Linked DNA regions of Homo sapiens: regions 1 and 3 are each linked to region 2. Evidence: promoter capture Hi-C in 16 types of primary human blood cells and fetal thymus (Javierre and others, 2016). All regions are on one chromosome and are shown on one strand. The core of a region is centred on a gene start or on the middle of the fragment in contact, and the rest is flanking DNA. Distances in the headings are between cores, read along the strand shown.

The links. Contacts are between HindIII fragments. The CHiCAGO score rates a contact against its expected background, and 5 or more counts as called.
Region 1: a contact is called between a fragment that was not itself captured here and the fragment with the promoter of BTG3 in region 2, in 2 of 17 cell types (activated CD4 T cells and non-activated CD4 T cells). The highest score is 6.8, in activated CD4 T cells.
Region 3: a fragment that was not itself captured here is called in contact with the fragment with the promoter of BTG3 in region 2 in 2 of 17 cell types (activated CD4 T cells and total B cells); the score reaches 6.0 in activated CD4 T cells.

What each region holds. Positions count from the first base shown.
Region 1 is chr21:17,881,789-17,884,488 of GRCh38, reverse strand. The region is part of intron 1 of LINC03147 (long intergenic non-protein coding RNA 3147); the gene reads left to right. All of the region lies in intron 2 of LOC124900465 (a long non-coding RNA gene), which reads right to left. Among named protein-coding and RNA genes, the nearest start is that of LINC03147, 2.5 kb to the left of the region's middle. The HindIII fragment of the contact is 6,627 bases long and covers 1-2,700 here.
Region 2 is chr21:17,611,541-17,614,240 of GRCh38, reverse strand. It overlaps BTG3 (BTG anti-proliferation factor 3), which reads left to right and starts at 1,340. Exons shown (of 5, transcript NM_006806.5): 1 at 1,340-1,542. BTG3-AS1 (BTG3 antisense RNA 1) reads right to left here and starts at 2,555. Exons shown (of 1, transcript NR_149073.1): 1 at 127-2,555. It also overlaps a transcript of CXADR not described here. The HindIII fragment of the contact is 7,083 bases long and covers 560-2,700 here.
Region 3 is chr21:17,935,419-17,938,118 of GRCh38, reverse strand. It overlaps a transcript of CHODL not described here. Among named protein-coding and RNA genes, the nearest start is that of LINC03147, 51 kb to the right of the region's middle. The HindIII fragment of the contact is 4,723 bases long and covers 1-2,700 here.

The sequences.
Region 1 (2,700 bases), core at 180-2,679, 270 kb before region 2:
AGGCAGATCACAAGGTCAGGAGATTGAGACCATCCTGGCTAACACAGTGAAACCCCGTCTCTACTAAAAATACAAAAAAATTAGCCGGGCGTGGTGGCGTCCGTGTGCCTGTAATTCCAGCTATTCGGAAGGCTGAGGCAGGAGAATCGCTTTTGAACCCGGGAGGCGGAGGTTGCAGTGAGCCGAGATCACGCCACTGCACTCCAGCCTGGGCGACAGAGCGAGACTCCGTCTCAAAAAAAAAAAAAGAAAGCCATTCTCTAGCGTATTCTTTATAAATTTTGCCCAAAGATTATTATTATGCTCTATTCTTTTTAAGTGGTAGTTTAAAATGATTACATTTCAAATGTCTCAACAGTATTTTGATTATTTTATTCAGTTGATATTCAAAGATTAAGCTGAAGAATACAATCTTGATTTTATAGATGAAGAAAGACTTTTAGGCCATGACCAAGATTGTGAGGGCTGGTCTTATAAATACGTGGTATGACATGAGGATTCTAGAAAGTTCCACCTGCCCAAATATATTTCATCTACTTGCCAGGGCACCAAGGATGCTTTACTAAAAATTCATAGCTTTCAATTTCAAACATTTGTTGACCATCATTAATCCTATACTAAAGTGCCAATATCCCTGCAAGGGATCTTGTAATGTCTACATTAAAAGTCATTAACAAAGAATAACTTTCAACAGCATTTCCCAACAGGTATCTGATACATGACTAAGGGGTTCCATGATCAAATATGATGAAGAAATACTGAACATTATTTTTCTCTCTTACAGAGTCACAATATATATTAGCATATAAAAAACTCTGAAGAGTTCAACGATTATTTTTTAAAGGAATTTTAAACTTTTCAAAACTCAGCAAGTCCAAAACTCTTAACTCTTAGGGCTCCAATGGCATTTATGACTGCTATGAGAATTATAATAACAGCTAGCTGAGAGCAAGATGCCAAAATTAAACAAAAGACCGCCAACTGTATTGGAGCCAGAAAGGGGCACTCAAATGGCTAAGAAACTGCTGATAGTGAAGATGAACGTTTCCCAAGGAAAAACTGGATTTGTTCAACTCTTTTTCTTGGACTGGTTCTTGGAATTTTATCTATGGATAAAATTCATCTTGTCTAGGCAGCTTCGTTTCGTCAGAGCCAAGTCCCCACATAATCGCATCCATTGAGATGCATTTTAAGGTTATATCACTATTATCTAAAGACAACACAAGAAGTCGTCATATAGATTCCATTCATGTGCTTGCTATTTGGAAGAAGTCAAGCATGTTGTCTATTATCTTGTTCAGTGCCCCTTATATAAAGCACCACATTGAAAATGCTTTTCAGAACTTAGTGCTAAAAACAAACAGTTTTGCCTTCCCTGAGGAACTGAAATCCTCTTTCCTTTCTGAAAAAGAGCAATAGGTCTTTCTGCTTGCTTTGATTGCCAGGAAACCCAAAGCCTAATGTCAGCACAAGTATAATAACCACATAGGCCTTTACGGTCTGAAAGATTTTTTCTTTCTTTCTTGCTATTTGCTTTTTTTTTTTTTTTTTTTTTGAGAAAGATCTCCCTCTGTCACTCAAGCCGGAGTGCAGTGGAGCGATCTTGACTCACTGAAGCCTCACCTGTTGGACTCAAGCAATCACCCCACCTTAGCCTCCCGAGTAGCTGGGACTACAGGTGTGCACCACCACATCTGGCTAATTTTTGTATTTTTGTAGTGACAGGGTTTCTCCATAGTGCCCAGGCTGGTCTTGAACTCCTGAGCTCAAGTGATCCACCCACCTTGGCCTCCCAAAGTGCTGGAATTACAGGTGTGAGCCACCACGCTGGGCCAAAAGTTTTTTCTTGACTCCGTACTCTTATTAATGCCTCCTTTGGTCATGACTGAGTTTCTCAGTCTCCATTTGTTTGTTGTGTGTGCTTGTCATAAATCATTGCAATCCCATTCAGAAAGGTGAGGGAGGATAGGTGAGAAGATGGAAAGATTATAAAAGACAAACAGAGGCCAGGCGCGGTGGCTCACGCCTGTAATCCCAGCGCTATGGGAGGCCAAGGCGGGCAGATCACAAGGTCAGGAGATCGAGACCATCCTGGCTAACATGGTGAAACCCTGTCTCTACTAAAAATACAAAAAAATTAGCCAGGCATAGTGGCAGGCACCTGTAGTCCCAGTTACTCAGGAGGCTGAGGCAGGAGAATGGCATGAATCAGGTAGGTAGAGCTGGCAGTGAGCCCAGATTGTGCCACTGCACTCCAGCCTGGGCAACAAAGCGAGACTCCATCTCTGAAAAAAAAAAAAAAAAGACAAACAGAAATGACTGGCTCCTGTATCTGTATGTAACACACCACCAGTACCTTACATGGGGCCTGGTATATCGTTGACACCTAATAATTTTTTTTTTATTATACTTTAAGTTCTGGGATACATGTGCAGAATGTGCAGGTTTGTTATACAGGTCTACACATGCCATGGTGGTTTGTTGCACCCATCAACCCGTCATCTACATTAGGTATTTCCCCTAATGCTATCCCTCCCCTAGCTCCTGACCCCCTAACAGGCCCCCCGTGTGTGATGCTCTTCTCCCGGTGTCCATGTGTTCTCATTGTTCAACTCCCACTTATGAGAACATGCAGACACCTAATAATTTTTAATATTTCTAAGTGAAGAAGTGTTCTTGATAATATTTACCTCATAGCTG
Region 2 (2,700 bases), core at 91-2,590:
AAAATAACCTCATCAGATTGTTATGATTTTAAAATAAAAACACCTTCACACCTCCTAGAAGACTCCAAGGTGTAAATATCCTCTTTAAATGTACCAGTAAGTAGACTAAGTCCTAGAAGAGTATAATTTTTTTTTTTTACAAATAAAGTTTATTGTACTGTTTGGGGGATGGTATATTTATTACTGCTAAAAAAATTACCATTTTGAATTGCTAATTGGCTATAACAAAGATCAGTAATACAAATTTAAAACATTCATAAAACTGAGCTGAAAACATGCTCCCAAGCCTAGTGGGCAGTAAGGAATCTGGCCAATATACTGTACAACTTGAACATTCAGTTCTTAAGTAGTTTACAACATGGTTTAGCCCTCTTTTAATAATAATAATAAAAAGGTAGGAATATCTTGTATTCCTCCCGCTAGTTGGATGTATTAAAGTGCTTTCACAAAACTAAGACCATGGTGTTAACTCAATATAAAAGGTTGAAAAGATGTTCCTTCTTTTCTTCAGAAAGTTAATGTTCCCTCTCCATATTTGTATTTGCTCAAAGATGAAGCTTTGCATCTGGGAAGTCCTTGAGTAGAGTGTCTCAGAAATAGAAAGCCTGGACTCTCAAGGCTTCATTCCTTTGGCCAACATCTTTGGAGCCTCTCCTTTATGCAAAACACAGTGGCCGGTGCCAGGGCAGCACACAAGCGTCCACAGGAGGCAGGCCCTGCTGTGAGGGGCCAGGGAAGGGCCCAACTAGGAGTGCCAACAACCGCCTAAAATACAGCAGGGCGGCTGCACGGTTAACGTGCGTGTAATTGACTACAGCAAGAAGGATGAGGATCTGTCCATAAATGCCAAGTTCCCCTTCCCGTCGAGTCCGTGTCCCCCATGAAGCCCCGGGTCTAGAGAGCTGGGTCTAGAACTCGCCATTCCGCCCTGAGGGTGTCAAGTGCAGCGTGGAGAGACCTGAGGGGGAAACAAAAAGGCCGAGACAGCCGAAAGGACCAAGCCCGCGCGACCCCCGAAGGCGCTGACGCACGTAGGGCGGCCGGGCGGGGGTCCCACAGGCCTTCAGCGCCGCTTTTTGCCGGGGAGGGAAGCCCGCGGTTCTGCGGACCGCGCCGTCGCGGTCGAGGGTCTGCGCCAGGCTCAGGGTAGGGCGAGGGTGTGTCGCCTCCCGTGCGGCTAGGCCCGGGGCTCGGGGGTGGCCTCGCGGCGAAGCCCCGCCCCCGGCACCGCCCCTCAGGCGCGCGAGCCGATCCCGCGCGCGCCAACCCTTTCCCGGGTCATCGCCCCTCCCCTCTTCCGGGCCGCGAGCCCCCTGCGCGCCGCTTTGGGGCTGCGCTCACTCGTGTGCGCGCTCGTCCGCCCGCCAGTCCTCTCAACGCGCGCTTGGCCGCCCGACGACGCGGGAGCCGCACGCGCCGGACGAGGCTCGCTGCGCTCCCTGTTGCCCAGCGCGGGCCCGTTGAGGCGGAGCCCTCAGTTCCCGGCCAGGACACGGTCTGGGCCGCCGAATCTCCGGCCGAAGAGCGGCGGCGGCAGCGGCGGTGAGGAGACCGGGCCGGGGAAAGGCAGACATGGCGGGGCTGTGGGTATCGGGGGAGGGTGGTCCCGTCGCCCCTGCGGCCACGTCGAAGGCTCGCTGGCGGGCGGCGCACCGGGGACAGGGGAGGGGCAGGGGATGGAACCAGGTTGCATGGGCTCCGGCTCGGCGCCAGAGCGGGGCTGCGGGCCGCGAGGGCGGCCCGCGAGGCTTTCCGCGGGACCCTCGGCGGGCGCCTGAGGAAAAAGACGCCGCCTCAGGGCTCCTGCCACGTTTCCCACAGCGCGTTACATTCCGCCTCCGGGTGGGCGACAACCCCGCGGCTTCCCACCCTCTGTCCACCCCCTTCGCGTCGGTGTTTTTTCTGGAGCTCCGCTTGTTTGCTGGAGAGTCGCGCCTCCGGGAAGCCGGGTCCTCGAACCCAGGGCCGCCCGCCGGGGACAGCGGACCCGCGGGGCAGGCGCACCCTGGCGAGGATGTTGTCGGGGAGGCTGGGCATTGGGCGCCAGGGCCCTTCCCCTTGAACTTGGGGAAAACCGGGATTGCAGAAGTTGGGCGCAGCTCAAGGCGGTTCTTTCAAGAGCGGGTGGAGATGTTTGATCCCTCCTCACCTACCTCTCTCAAAACCCCAGCGGGAGAGCCTAGCAGCAGGTTTCGATGGCTTCAGAAAGTCCAACTCTTAGCCCCTTGGAAAATTATTTCCCCTCTTCATGGCTTTGTGGCGCCGCTGAGGTCGGGCCGGGGCTCCTCACCCCACGGGCCAGTCTTCTCGCGCCCTCCACCTTGGGAACGTCTATCAGGAGAAAAATGTGTTCCTAGAAACGTTTGCGATTAGCTTTTCGTTACAAGGGAGGGAAAAGTACAAAAGTTATAAACTCCTGCGAGGCCGAGCTTGATTCTGGATTCCCTTTGGGTTTTATCCACGCAGCCGTGAGCAGAGGAGCCTTGTGGAACAAAGTAGAACTTGAGGAGCAGCCGCCGCGGTGACGAGGTCCCAGGATGACGTCACCGTGCGATATTTAAAATGGGAGCCTTTTGCTCTGAGTGTGGGTGGAGGACGCCTACTTACTCAAGACGCCTGAGGTCTTCTTGGCCCTGCTTGCCTCTGGTGGTTCTTGCCCTGACTGTAACTCTCCCTCTTTCACCTTTTGGTACTCCTAGA
Region 3 (2,700 bases), core at 27-2,526, 320 kb before region 2:
GGGGAACTACGTATTAATAAACCAAATGTAATGAAAATTTACTTTTCAAATTCGCAAATATTACAAATTTAATGAAAAGTATGTGGGGTGAGGGGAACTTGCCCAATACCAAATGAGAACAGAAGCCATTGTAACACAAGTTATACAAAGTTTAGGAACTTGCCCAGTAGACTTTTGATCTCTATAAACACATCAAAGACAGGTACCTTGTTTTCTTTATCTTTGTATCCTTGGCCCTTAACATAGCACCTGGCACATATTCAGCATGAAATAATGATTAAGTAACTGACAGATGAATTAAATGAGATGACAAAATTTTATTAAAAACTATAGATAACTTTTTCACCAATAAAAGTTATTTGAAAAAGCCTATCAAAGTGAAAAAAATGAGAAGGTAGAAAAATTATCCAAAAATTAATATCATAGTTTATAAAGAGCCAAGTGTAAAAAAGAAATCTAGGCTCCAGTGGTTAAAGAGATGAATTTCAAGCTAGTGTGAAGATCATCAGAACCACAGGAATATAAAATGTATCTGTGAAAAGACACTGTATTTTTATGAAGAAACAATGAGAACAGATTAAAGAGAACTATAAGTATGACCTGTGCAAATAACCTAATCTGTAAGAATCACAAACCTGGATCACCCTCAACGTGAGCTTTCTCTGCCTGTTCACTGTGAGCTTGATCTGCCTGTTCCCAGGACACTGAACACTACTGAGAGAAGACAGAGGATTATTCAGAATTGGAGCATTATGAATTCATACAGTCTAACTTCAAACGGGCCCTCTGTGTTTGGCAATCCTGTAATCACAACCAGGTATTCTCCTCTCTGTGGCAATTTCAAAACTTCTCTTTTCTCTGCTCTCACCTGCCCCTCTCCTTCTGTCCCACTTAGCAGATAACTTCACTGACTTTAGTGGAAAACTGATGCTCTGGGATCATCAAGATCTTGAACTTTACCAGTGTCTGATTTCATCTCAGTGCATATCCATTTCTACATTTATCCTCTTCCTCCTAATTTTTTTTTTTTTTTTTTTGAGATGGAGTCTCACCCTGTCACCCAGGCTGGAGTGCAATGGCACAATCTCAGGATCTCGGCTCACTGCAACCTCTGCCTCCAGGGTTCAAGTGATTCTCCTGCCTCAGCCTCCTGAGTAGCTGGGATTACAGAAGCCCACCACCACGCCCAGCTAATTTTTGTATTTTTAGTAGAGAAAGAGATTCACCATGTTGGCCAGGCTGGTCTCAAACTCCTGACCTCATGATCTGCCCGCCTCAGCCTCCCACGTTGCCGAGATTAAAGGCGTGAGCCACCACGCCCGGCCCTTCCTTCTAAAATTTTAATAGATATTTACTCTCCTTTCTCCAAAGATTACCCCTCCGTGTATGTTCTCAGTCACATCCCTTCCTAATTTCTGTGGACCTTAGAACTCATATTTTACCACTTATGTCCACGGCATCTTTCCTGCACTGCTGGATTCCTATATGTTTTTATTATTTTAAGTATGCAAATGTATAGCCAAACTTTAAAACAAAACATAATGAAACAACAGCTTTCCATTGGATCTGTTTCACATTCTAAGTACTATGAAATTTCTCTAAACTACCACATTTTCCAAATGGACTCTTTCTGATGATTCTTTTTTTTTTTTTTAACATCATCTTATACTATCTTTAATTTCATAAAAAGGATTTAAGGGTCTCTCTCCCACCTATTAAAAATCTACCTTCCACACTTGTTTCCACCCTTGCTTCCTCATTTTGATGATTTATTTTCTCAAACCAAAATCATTAAGGTTATGTCACAGTTTCTTCTAAATCTTTGTACCTCGTAACCCATCAGTCACCAAGGTCTTTCAAGCCTTCCTTCCCAATGACTTTTAGATTTTGCTCCTGTCCTTCATTGCCTGAATCCTTAGCCCTTTATGCCTGGGATACTGAAATTGCCTGCCAACCAGTGTTATAAGGTAGAAAATGCTACATTAATAAGTTCCACAAAAATCTTCCTGGCTAACAATAAGAAAGTTCTATTTCTACGATATGATAATGAGTTGTCAGAAGACTCTGCTTCATGTTTCTTCACCCTGCAATTCAAGCTGATAAAGCAGCCCCTGTCTAAAAAATTGCCAGGCTCACAGAAAGGGGAAAAGAAAGCATGGCAAACTGCAATTCAGAGCTTAACACCTTGCTTAGATGTGGCACTCATCACTTTTTATTGCTTTCAAATAGTGTATGCACTCCTGTCTTCGTGCTCTTCTCTCTATCCCTTACATCACCTCAATCAGCACCCATCACTTCTTCAAAACCTACACACTCTTCAACATCCTCAGAAGATACAATCTTTCTCTGCATATATTCCAAATCTCTCTCCAATCCTTTCTTTCCTAATTATTCTCCATGCTACACTCTTTAGAGATTTAATATATCAGGATACACTGCTGGTATAGATATTTCTACTTTGTGCATCAATTATGTCATCTATATATCTAATTTATCCAACTATATTGAATGTATTTTGTTAAAAAAGATAATTCTTGACATTTGTCACTTAAATTATTCATTTTTATTTCAAAACAATCCCAAATGTCTCTGCCATGAAACAATGTACAATTTGTCTAAACGCACACCAGAAGAGAGTCATCCCCTAATCAGAGTGTGCTTGTGAGCTGTGGAAAAGAAATACGGAGTAATGGAAGGTAT